2 separate regions of the Homo sapiens genome follow, and region 2 is linked to region 1. Evidence: promoter capture Hi-C in 16 types of primary human blood cells and fetal thymus (Javierre and others, 2016). All regions are on one chromosome and are shown on one strand. The core of a region is centred on a gene start or on the middle of the fragment in contact, and the rest is flanking DNA. Distances in the headings are between cores, read along the strand shown. Region 1 holds the start of DDX47 (DEAD-box helicase 47). Region 2 overlaps LINC01252 (long intergenic non-protein coding RNA 1252).

Evidence for each region. The method cuts DNA at HindIII sites, captures the fragments that hold promoters and counts their contacts. A CHiCAGO score of 5 or more calls a contact.
Region 2: a contact is called between a fragment that was not itself captured here and the fragment with the promoter of DDX47 in region 1, in 1 of 17 cell types (non-activated CD4 T cells). The highest score is 5.9, in non-activated CD4 T cells.

The regions. Positions count from the first base shown.
Region 1 is chr12:12,810,335-12,816,009 of GRCh38, forward strand. DDX47 (DEAD-box helicase 47) reads left to right here and starts at 3,012. Exons shown (of 12, transcript NM_016355.4): 1 at 3,012-3,120; 2 at 3,797-3,890. The coding sequence starts at 3,034. RefSeq lists an enhancer at 2,839-3,148. The HindIII fragment of the contact is 15,992 bases long and covers 1-3,819 here.
Region 2 is chr12:11,549,770-11,555,125 of GRCh38, forward strand. LINC01252 (long intergenic non-protein coding RNA 1252) reads left to right here. Exons shown (of 8, transcript NR_033890.1): 3 at 2,811-2,924; 4 at 3,797-3,913; 5 at 4,080-4,301. The region is part of intron 2 of LOC124902877 (a long non-coding RNA gene); the gene reads right to left. Among named protein-coding and RNA genes, the nearest start is that of LINC01252, 4.4 kb to the left of the region's middle. The HindIII fragment of the contact is 5,644 bases long and covers 339-5,356 here.

The DNA of each region.
Region 1 (5,675 bases), core at 1,762-4,261:
GTGGCAACAAAGGAATGAGAAGAGACAGGTTAAGAGTGCATAAAGAGTGGGGGCCGGGGGGCCAATTGCAAAATGGAGGCTGCAAAAGGCCCAGAGTTCTGGTCTTCACTCTATTTATTGAGTACAATCCCTTAGATCTAAGAAGCAGATGTTTAGGGTGAAACAGTGAAAGGGAGGCAGTATGTCATAGGCGTAATCTATAGCAATGGCTGTTTAAATGAGTCTCCTTTGTTCTCAAACAGCATATCTTTAACTTATCGAAGAGTAGCTAGTGGGAGTGGGCTTAACTAGGAGCCTGAACGTCTGTCCACATTTCAATGCTTCAAAGGAGTGTCTTTCTCCTTGAACACAGTGTTTATAGATAAGAGAGCAGGTTGCGCTCAGAGCATGGGAACATAATGGCGATAAGAAGGCTTTCCTCCTCAGAGGCCTTTTGTGACTTGCCACAACTTATTGTCCCATATTTTTATGGCCCGTTTATGCAGGCACCCCACAAGCCCTTTTCCCAACATAGATCAGGGGTCCCCAGCCTCTGGGCCATGGACTGGTGCCAGTCCGTGGCCCGTTAGGAGCTGAGTTGCACAGCAGGAGGTGAGTAGCAGGTGAGCAAGCATTACTACCTGAGCTCCGCCTCCTGGTAAATCAGCTGCGGCATTAGATTCGCTTGGGAGCACAATCCCTATTGCAAGGGATCTAGGTTGCGTGGTTCTTATGAGAATCTAATGCCTGGTGATCTGTCACTGTCTCCCATTACCCCCACATGGAACCATCTAGTTGCAGGAGAACAAGCTCAGGGCTATCACTGATTCCACATTATGGCAAGTTGTACAATTATTTCATTATATATTACAATGTAATAATAATAGAAATAAACTGCACAATAAATGTAATGTGCTTGAATCATCCTGAAACCATCCCCGCCCCAATTCTGTGCAAAAAATGTCTTCCACGAAACCAGTCCTTAGTGCCAAAAAGGTTGGGGACCGCTGTCTTAGATGGTCTCCTTTTCTCACTCTTTCTACAGCCTATCTCCATATAGAGTTAGAGTAATATTTTAAATGTGTAGATCATGTCTCTTCCCTGCTCTAAACCCCCAGTGGCTTCCTTCTGCATTTAGGATAACATCCAAAACCCCAGACCTTTTACAACAGGGTCCTGCAGAGTCTGAGCTGAGCCCAATTCTCTGACCACATCCTACCCTTTTTGTTGTTGAGACACTGCTGTGATGCCTAAATCAGGGCCCTTTTTTAGTTGTGGTGGTGGGGAGGTCGGCAGGCACATTGAGTTGAGTTCCTCACAATTCTCAGGTCAAGCACACTGGCATCACAAGTCTCCTCTCTTGCTTTGTGTATTTATTATCCTTTTTTTTTTTTTTTTGAGACGGAGTCTTGCGCTGTCACTCAGGCTGGAGTGCAATGGCATGATCTCAGCTCACTGCAACCTCCGCCTCCGGGGTTCAAGCAATTCTCCTGCCCCAGCCCCCCGAGTAGCTGGGATTACAGGCACAGGCCACCATGCCTGGCTAATTTTTGTGTTTTTAGTAGAGACTGGATTTCACTATGTTGACCAGGCTGGTCTCGAACTCTTGACTTCAAGTGATCCATCTGCCTTGGCCTCCCAAAGTGCTAAGATACAGGTGTGAGCCACCGCGGCCGGCCTATTGTCTTATACACTTAATTCTTTTATTCCCAATTCCCAGTTTTATTCTAATTCTTCTCCCTCTGCAGGCAACCATTCTAAAATATTTCAAGTGTATCTTCTGTTGGATGTGTTTTAGCAGAATGTGATATCTGTGGGCCTATATTTTAATATACTTGATATATTTTATGCTTTTCTCACTAAGCACTAGGTTTTTCAGATCTAATCATATTGTTAAGGGCATGTTTGTAGACACCATGTTCACATTTTAACTATGCATTTTCCCAGTGACGGACACCAGATTGCCCCCAACTTCCCATCCTCAGGAATAAAACTGCAACGAGCACCCTGCGCAGTGTGAGACCCAAGTGACAGGCCACAGGAGGGCACTCGCTGGCCATGGGGCATGCAACATACAGCTCTGAATTTGCTGCTTTCCAGAATAGCCTTAGTAGCTTCACAGTCTTGGTACTTGGAATTCTCTCACTCTGGAATGATTATCTCCTGGGATCTTAAAGCGTTTTCTCCTGCTCAACAGTGAGGTCTTAACTCAAATATCACTGTCTCAGAGAGGCCTTCCCAATCTCACAGTTATCCCCACAACCCACCCTCCCCAGGTTACTCTGTAATTTTTATGTGAACAGGGTTTCACTCTGTTGCCCAGGCTGGAGTACAGTAGCACCATCTCCACTCACTGCAGCCTCAACTTCCGGGGTCAACTGATCCCTCAACCTCAGCCCCCTGAATAGCTGGGATTACAGGCGCATGCCACCATGCATGCCTGACTGATTTTTGCATTTTGCAGACACAGGGTTTCGCCACGTTGCCCAGGCTGGTCTCGAACTCCTGGGCTCAAGTGATCCGCCCGCCTCGTCCTCCCACAGTGCTGGGGTTACAGGCGTGAGCACACCCAGCTACTTTTCACAATTTGAAATGCTCTGTGATAGCTTATTTATGATCTGTCTTCTTTTTCTTCACGAGGGCAGGGGTCGCTGTCCTATTCACCAGCCATCTAGCATAGCCTTAGCAAATGGTAGGTTCTCAACATTATTGAATAAAGTAATGACATAATAAAAAAATAGTATTGTAATATCAATCCGTTCCAAACTCTATGGTTAGAAAAGCGGGGAACATAACTGGCGACACACGTAGGGAAGGCTCTTTAAAAGGGACCTAAAGGTCAACTGGAGTCCCTGGTGATCAGCCCCTTCTGCACTCGGATCTATTCCGCAAGCCTACGCGCCCATATTCACTGGGCCCCACCTGCCTAGCGGACGGGTGCAATCCCCGGCAAGCCCGCAGGGGGCGCGCAGAGCACGTCGTCCGGGGAGAACTAAAACTACATTTCCCAGCATCCCGCGCGCCGCAGACCCACTTCCGGAGACCTCACACAAGATGGCGGCACCCGAGGAACACGATTCTCCGACCGAAGCGTCCCAGCCGATTGTGGAAGAGGAGGAAACTAAAACATTTAAAGACCTGGTGAGAATGGATGACGCTGGCTTCTTTTATGTACTCTGGTGCTAGGCTCAGGGAGACCCCAGGTACCTTAGATCCCGCTCTGATAGTGTACAAAAGCATCTTGGGGCCTAGCTTGGGTTTTCCCCAGAATTTCAGAGGGCTGGGTTTCGGACGTGCTCTGAGTTTGGGTGGTGGGAGGGCTGCTGGGCCCTGAGACCCCCTATTTGCCCTATTCGCCACTTTAGTGTGGCAACGTTTGTATGTGCATCCAGGAGGTTGTACATATGGGGAATGGAATTGGTCTCTTTATAACTGGAGCTTTGGAGTCAGATGAACCAACCAGATTTGAATTTTGACACAGTCTCTTACTGAGGACAAGTTGTTACCTCTCTGTGTTTCTCTTTCCACATCTGTAAATTGGGGATAGTAATAAGTACTTACCTCGCAGAATTGTTGTGACGATTAAATGAGATGATACATGTAAAGCACCTGGCCTTGGCCTTGGTGAGCAGAAAGTGTTCGTTAAGTCTTGAGCTACTGTCTCATGGTATAGTTAAAGAGTAGGCTCTGAGATGCACAGTAAATACCTTTTAAATCAAATACAATGGTTGTACATGATGGGTCTGACAGTCAGTTAAGTAGGAGGGAGGTAGGGGTGTGCTGTTCTTGGCTAAGGTATATTTTTCTGAATTCCAAGGGTGTGACAGATGTGTTGTGTGAAGCTTGTGACCAGTTGGGATGGACAAAACCCACCAAGATCCAGATTGAAGCTATTCCTTTGGCCTTACAAGGTAGGTTGTATGACTTCGTACAGATTTAATATAAAGTTATCTCAATTAGATACCCCTTTTGAAAGCTGTTGCTTGCATACTTCAAGTGAAATAAGGATATGGTCACTAAAGGTACAAAGTTTGGGTAATGGTATTTGAAAATGTCATTCTCCAATTTTACTGAGCTTACTTTCTGTCTTAATAGCTGAAAGGGTTTGTTCTCTGCCACAGATGCTGACTTTAAGGAAGCCCTAGGTTAAAGTTAAAGTATATTAACGACAATCTTGGTAGACTTTATGCATCAGTGGGCGCACACTTAGGGAAGGATGCCTGGAACACATATGTGTGTCTTGAGGAGTTGAGAATTCTTGCTGTGAGCCATGTTTATCAGATTTGTAAAACAGTGGTTAAAGCAGATTGATGGCTACTGGAACTGAAACTAATGGGATGAACTTTTTTCTTTTTGAGATCTTTTTTTTAAGATGGAGTTTTTTTTGAGATAGAGTTTCGCTCTGTCGCCCAGGCTGGAGTGCAGTGGTGCGGTCTTGGCTCACTGCAACCTCTGCCTTCCAGGTTCAAGCAACTCTCCCGCCTCAGCCTCCCAAGTAATGGATTACAGGCGCATCACCATGTCCGGCTAATTTTGTATTTTTAGTAGAGATGGGGTTTCAGCATGTTGGCCAGGCTGGTCTCGAACTCCTGACCTCAAGTGATCTACCTGCCTTGGCCTCCCAAAGTGCTGGGATTACAGGTGTGAGCCACCACATCTGGCTGTAACAGGATGAACTTTAATAGGAGTAGAAGTAAAGTCCTGCTCTTAGATTCCTAAAGTACCAACTTTACAGGATTAGGGTGGGTGATAAAAGAGGCCCAGAGGTCTTAGTTAACTGAAATCTATTAAGATCCTCAGAGAGAGTGAATGTAATCATAGCAATTGTTATAAGAGGGGTAATGTGGCTAATTATTGTTAGTATTAATGTAGCTATTACTGTATTACTATATTATTAGTGATTAATGTAAGCTATAATTATTACTCATTAGTAATTAATGTAGTGATTATTATTGATAATAATTGAAAGATTTAATGATTTGAAGAGCTGTCATGTGGAAAAGGGGTTAGACTTACTCTACAAAATTCCATTTGCTCTTTCCATAAATAGTTACTATTTGTTGTAAATGTAAGGCACTGGAGGTTAACAGTCTGTCCTCTCCAAGAGTCTATAATCTATTAAAGAGATAATTATAAATTTATTACAAGTTGAACAGGGACCTAAGAAAGTTACATTCAGAGTGCACTGAGGGAGAAGAGATTACTTCTAATTAGGATGGATTAGAGAAGATTTATTTCATTTTATTTTTGGCTGGGGAGGTTGGGAAGACATGTGAGCTGAACCTTGAACACTGACTTTAGAAGGATTTAGACATTCAGATATGATGGGAGGGGAGGACTTTCTAGGCATAGGGAACAGCATGAAAAAAAGCCAACTGGAAAACATGGGCATGTATGGAGATTTGCAAGTACTTAGCAGAGTGGTGAAAAAGTTTAGTAAGGTGATTGGGGCCGGATTATGAAGGATTTGAGTGCTGGGTCAAGGAATTTGGTCTTCGTTTCATAGGCAGTGGGGCATTTTTGGAGATGAAGGATTTAGAGTTGTACTCTTGGAAGATTAATCTCATAGCTGTGAAAGATCATTAGAAACAAGAGACTGAGTCTGGGAAACCAATTAGTAGGTCTTTGTAATGATTTTTGCAATCAATAATGGGTAGGGTGGTGGTAGAATGAAAAAGAAAATGTTGGAAAAAGAA
Region 2 (5,356 bases), core at 1,911-4,410, 1.3 Mb before region 1:
CAGGGTTTCACCATTGTTCGTCAGGCTGGTCTCGAACTCCTGACCTCATGATCCACCCACCTCGGCCTCCCAAAGTGCTGGGATTACAGGCGTGAGCCACCGCGCCCAGCCTCAATAAGTATTTATTAAGTGTATAACACATGGCAGAAACTGTGCTAGATACTGAAACTATAATGGCAAAAATCAATTCCTGTCCTCTGAATTGGTTACCTAGTAGAGAAGACAGACATGTAAACAAATATAGTGGAGAGTGACATAGGCAATAATAAAACTATGTATAAGAAATCCAATTAGTATGGATAATTAACAACTAATGGTTGGAAAGAAGTGTCAAAAAAAGCTTCTTAGATACAGTGACACCTGAGCAGGATTTCTAAGGGTGCACTGGGGAAAGAGGTTCATAAATCAAGGGAGCATCATACTGAAATGGTAGTGATGGAACATGGTATATGCAGACAACTACAAAAATTCACTTCTACTGATAGTCCAAGGGAGGAAGGCATGAATATGAGAATGGAGGTATGGACAGAGGCCAGGTCAGGGTAAGTTAGAGAGCTTACTTAACCTTGTAGAAAATGACGAGCCATTGGAGACTTTAAAGAGAAATAACATAGTCATATTCTTGTTGTGAAAGATCATCTGGGCTGCTATGTGCAGGACAGATTACCAGGAACAAAACCAGAAGCACCTGTTCAAGCCTGAATTCTAGTCACAGAAGTAAAGCTGAAGAGGAGAAAATGGATGTGAGCAATATCCAAAAGGGAAAATAATAATATACACATAAGGAATAGGGAAGAGAAGAGCAAAAATAATTTCCTATTTCGCCTTCCCTTCTTTTGGAGTTGGAACACTCAAATGGTGTGATGGGTGGCACTGGGGCTAAGGGGACAAGGCTGGCCCAGCTGGGAGATTGCTTACATGCAGGAGGATCAAGTGAATGAGTCAACGTATCAAGGAGACTGGGAATGCAATTTCTCACTGTTGAAGAAAGGAGTTACAAATATGCAAAGGGGAAAATGTGATACTGGATTGGAATTGAAGGCATTAGTCCGAAGTTATGGATTTTAAAGATAGGAATGTGACAGATGATAGATAGGTAGGGATAGACAGGTAAATTGAGAAGTAGAAATGTATGAATGTGTTATATTTCCTAGTCCAGGAGCAATGACACCCCAGTTGCAATGAGCATCCTAGCATTTAGATCTCAGTTTCTAAATACCTTTTTCCACTAAAAGGAACCAGGGCTGGGGCAGGGAAAGAACAAGATGACCCTGGAACTCTATTGTACTGAAAGTAAGGAAGCCCTCAGATAATTATGAGGACATGTCTAAAGGACACAGGAGTGGCTCACGCCTGTAATCCCAGCACTTTGGGAGGCCAAGGCGGGTGGATCACAAGGTCAGGAGATCCAGACCATCCTGGGTAACACGGTGAAGTCCCATCTCTACTGACAATACAAAAAAATTAGCCAGGTGTGGTGGCGGGCGCCTGTAGTCCCAGCTACTCGGGAGGCTGAGACAGGACAATAGCGTGAACCCAGGAGGTGGAGCTTGCAGTGAGCCGAGATCACACCATTGTGCTCCAGCCTGGGCAATAGAGTGAGACTTCCTCTCAAAATAAATAAATAAATAAATAAACACAGGAGCCAACTTCATGGGGCTCCAGTTGTCCACATCTAGGTCATTTTGTGGATCAAAATAAAAAATGATAGTAACTGATTATAATTCATTGAAAAATCAAATCTCATGAATCCATACTTATATAATACATGAATGAATAAATATGAGAGAGAAGAGAGAGCTCTAACTTATAGTAAATGCCAACTAATCAATGTAAATATAATTATGGAATTAGAAAATTGTTATTATTTTGAGACAGGGTCTTGCTCTGTCACCCAGGTTGGAGTGCAGTGGTGCAGTCACAGTTCACTGCAGCCTCAACCTGCTGGGCTCAAGCAATTCTCCCACCTCAGCCTCCCAAGTAGCTGGGACTTCAGGCGTGTGCCACCACACGGCTATTTTTGTATTTTTTGTAGAAATGAGGTTTCATCATGTTGCCCAGGCTGGTCTCAACTCCTGGGCTCAAACAATCCACCTCAGCCTCCCAAAGTGCTGGGATAATAGGCATGAGCCACCACACCCAGCCAGAAAATTATTATTTTGCAACCATTATAGTTATAACTAATTTAGATAGAATCATCATTGGATGGAAAAGCTAGTAGGTGAAAATTTGATGAGGAAATGGATACAATCTCAAAGTATCTCCCCCAAAATATTTAGTGCTTATTAGTAGTTTAGAAATACAAATTACTTACTAGTTAGCTCTATAGCATAGAAACCTAGCCAATATCATCTTAATCGAGTGCTAACATATAATGTTGTCTATAAACAGGATAAATCTATATTAAGTTACTCTAACAAACTGAGAAAACACAGCATCATTTCTGTGAACGTCCTGCCAAAAACGCACCACCCAAATCTGACAATAAGGTAACATCAGACAAACCCAAACTGAGGGACATTCTACGAAGTAATTAGCCTGTTCTCTTTAAAAACACCCAGGTTATGAAAAACAAGGAAAGAATGAGAAAATGTTCCTGATTAAGGGAGACTAACAGAGATATAATGACTAAACACAACACATGATCCTGGGTTGGATTCTGGAATTATAAAGAACGTTATTGTAAAATTGGTGAAATCTGAATGGAGTCTACGGATTGTGGCTTTATTACATCAATGTTAAATTCCTGATCTTTTTCATTTCTTTTTCCTTTCTCTTTTTTTTTTTTTTTTTTTTTTTTTTTGAAACAGAGTCCCTGTCATCCAGACTGGAGTGCAGTGGTACAATCCCGGCTCACTGCAACCTCCACCTCCTGGGTTCAAGCGATTCTCCTGTCTCAGCCTCTCAAGTACCTGGAATTACAGGCATGTGCCACCGCACCCCATGTAATGTCCCGATCTTGATGGATGCACTCTGGTTATAGAAATGTCCTCATTTTAAGGAAATACATGCCAAAGTAGTAAAGGCTCATGGGGCATCATATTTGCAACTGTTCTCACCTGGTTCAGAAAAATTTAAGAGCAATAATACGTATAAATGTGTAGATAGAATAAGAAGACAAACATGGTAAAATGTTAACAACTGGGGAATCCGGATGAAAGGTGTACGGAAGCTCTTGTGCTACTACACCTGCAACTTTTCCATAAGTTTGAAATTGTTTCAAAATGAAAAAAATGTACAAGTATCCTAGAAAATGCAAACTCATCCAAAGTGACGGAAAGCAGGTCACTGGTTGTCTGAGTGGGATGGGCCAGAGGAGAGAGGAGTCAGGATTACGAAGGGGGCACAACAAGGAAACTTGGTGGGGAGGATATGAATATCCTTTTTTTTTTTTTGCTTTTTTAGAGACAGGGTCATGCTCTGTCACCCAGCTCATAGCTCACTGCATCCTCAAACTCCAGGGCCCACGGGATCTTCCTGCCAAGCAACTGGGACTACAGGCTCAGCCCACCATGCCTGGCTGTTTTTTTTCTTTTGGTGGAGATGAGGTCTCACTATGTTGCCTGGGGCTGGTCTTGAACTCCTGGTCTCAAGGAAATCCTCCCACTTATGACTCCCAAAGCACTGGGATTACAGGCGTGAGCCACCTTGCCCAGCCATGTTCATTATCTTGATTGTGTCAGTTGCCTCTTTGGTGTAAAATAGGTCGAAATTTACTATGTTGTACACTTTAAAAATCTATTAATAGGTTAAATAACATGAAATAATTGTTTTTTAATTCCTAATATTTGCCTAGGGAATACAACCAACCTCTTCATCACATGAAGACATTTTTTTCATGCTTTTCCATGTTCCTGAAATGCCCTCCCCTAGGAGCTTCCTCCAATTTATCTACTCTTTCACATTCAAGAAGGTAATGGAGTTCCATCTTCCTCCATTAACTCCCCCATACTGAAATCTGCTATATCTTTCATTCATTTGAATCTTATTGTTACAGTACATACGATGGAAATCTATAATATTTTTATTGCTATAGTTATCATTTCAGTTGTTATGTTTTCTGCTTATTTTTGTATCAGAGTTGAATCAAGATGTTTAAGTCTCTGGAGAGTTAAGTATTTTGTAGGAGGAAGAATATCAAGGTTGTGGAAAAAAAAAAAAAAAAACCTTGTTGTGGCTGAGAAACTGGGCTGGAGTCAGGAGGCTGGTGATGGCCCCAGTTCTACCACTAACTAGCCATGTGCCTACGATGCTTCATTTCACCTCTTGAGATCTAAATTTCCCCGTACGTCAAAGCAAAGGTGAGGTCAATGTCATCTATGAAATGTTCTTGACTTTCAAATTATTTGAGTAGTGGCCGCTAGATGGAACCCGTGAACCCATATCCATACATGAGCATTTCAAGGAGAGGTGGTGCTGAAGCAGGAAGCCAAAAAGCCAGGGTGACAGATTATCCTGTGCTTCGTGCAACAAGGATAGTCTGTAGGAACAACAACAAGAGAAGTTGTCTCTCTCAGACAATGGTGTCCTAGCCTAGACATGTGGGCTAGGAAATTAGTGATCAGAGGAAATCAGACCAAAGCCAAAGTCAGAGACATTTTCTGTTCTCCTCTTCACTAAACCCCAAGGCTCTTTAGCATGAAGTATGCAGACCCTGTGTGATTTTCTGTGTTATCTAAAGTAAAACTTATTAGAGTTCCACGTATTTTTAACCAAATATGTTTAATGAACGTTGTTCTGAGAGAAAGGGGATTCCAGTCGCTTCTGTCAGAGGCATTCAAGGATATGGAGAGAAATAGCTTTTTAGAATTTGAAAATAAAATTTCTATGAAATTGGTCAAAATGGATGAGAAGGAAAAAACCTCTCAAGCGGTAAGTAGGTAGAAAAACGATCGCTTTGTGCCATTTTTATATGTTAACAAATTATGTTAACATTTATTGAACACATCAAACCCTGCAGTATAACTGATTCTTCAATAAGTGTATACAAGTCACACATAGAATGAGTGGCATGCTGGGTGCTCCCTGAATAATCCTTTTCTTTTACCAGTTAAGTTTCCTGCTGAATATTTCGAAACTCTTTGCAAACTGACTTCAGCACCTCTGTGGGATATTCCCTTCCACTGCCAACCCTTAGTTGTCAGAAACTCTGTCTTTGGGAAGCATGCTACATTTTCTAGAACAAATCTAGATACTTTAGAAATGATGGATGATGATGATGATGATGAATGATGACAACACTCTGATGCAATTCATATATCACAACATTATCCAGATCCAACAAACACTGAGAAAATGGTGTTTTGCAGCAATTTTAATTCCTTTATTTCTCAAACATCTTTGTCAATAGTCATTT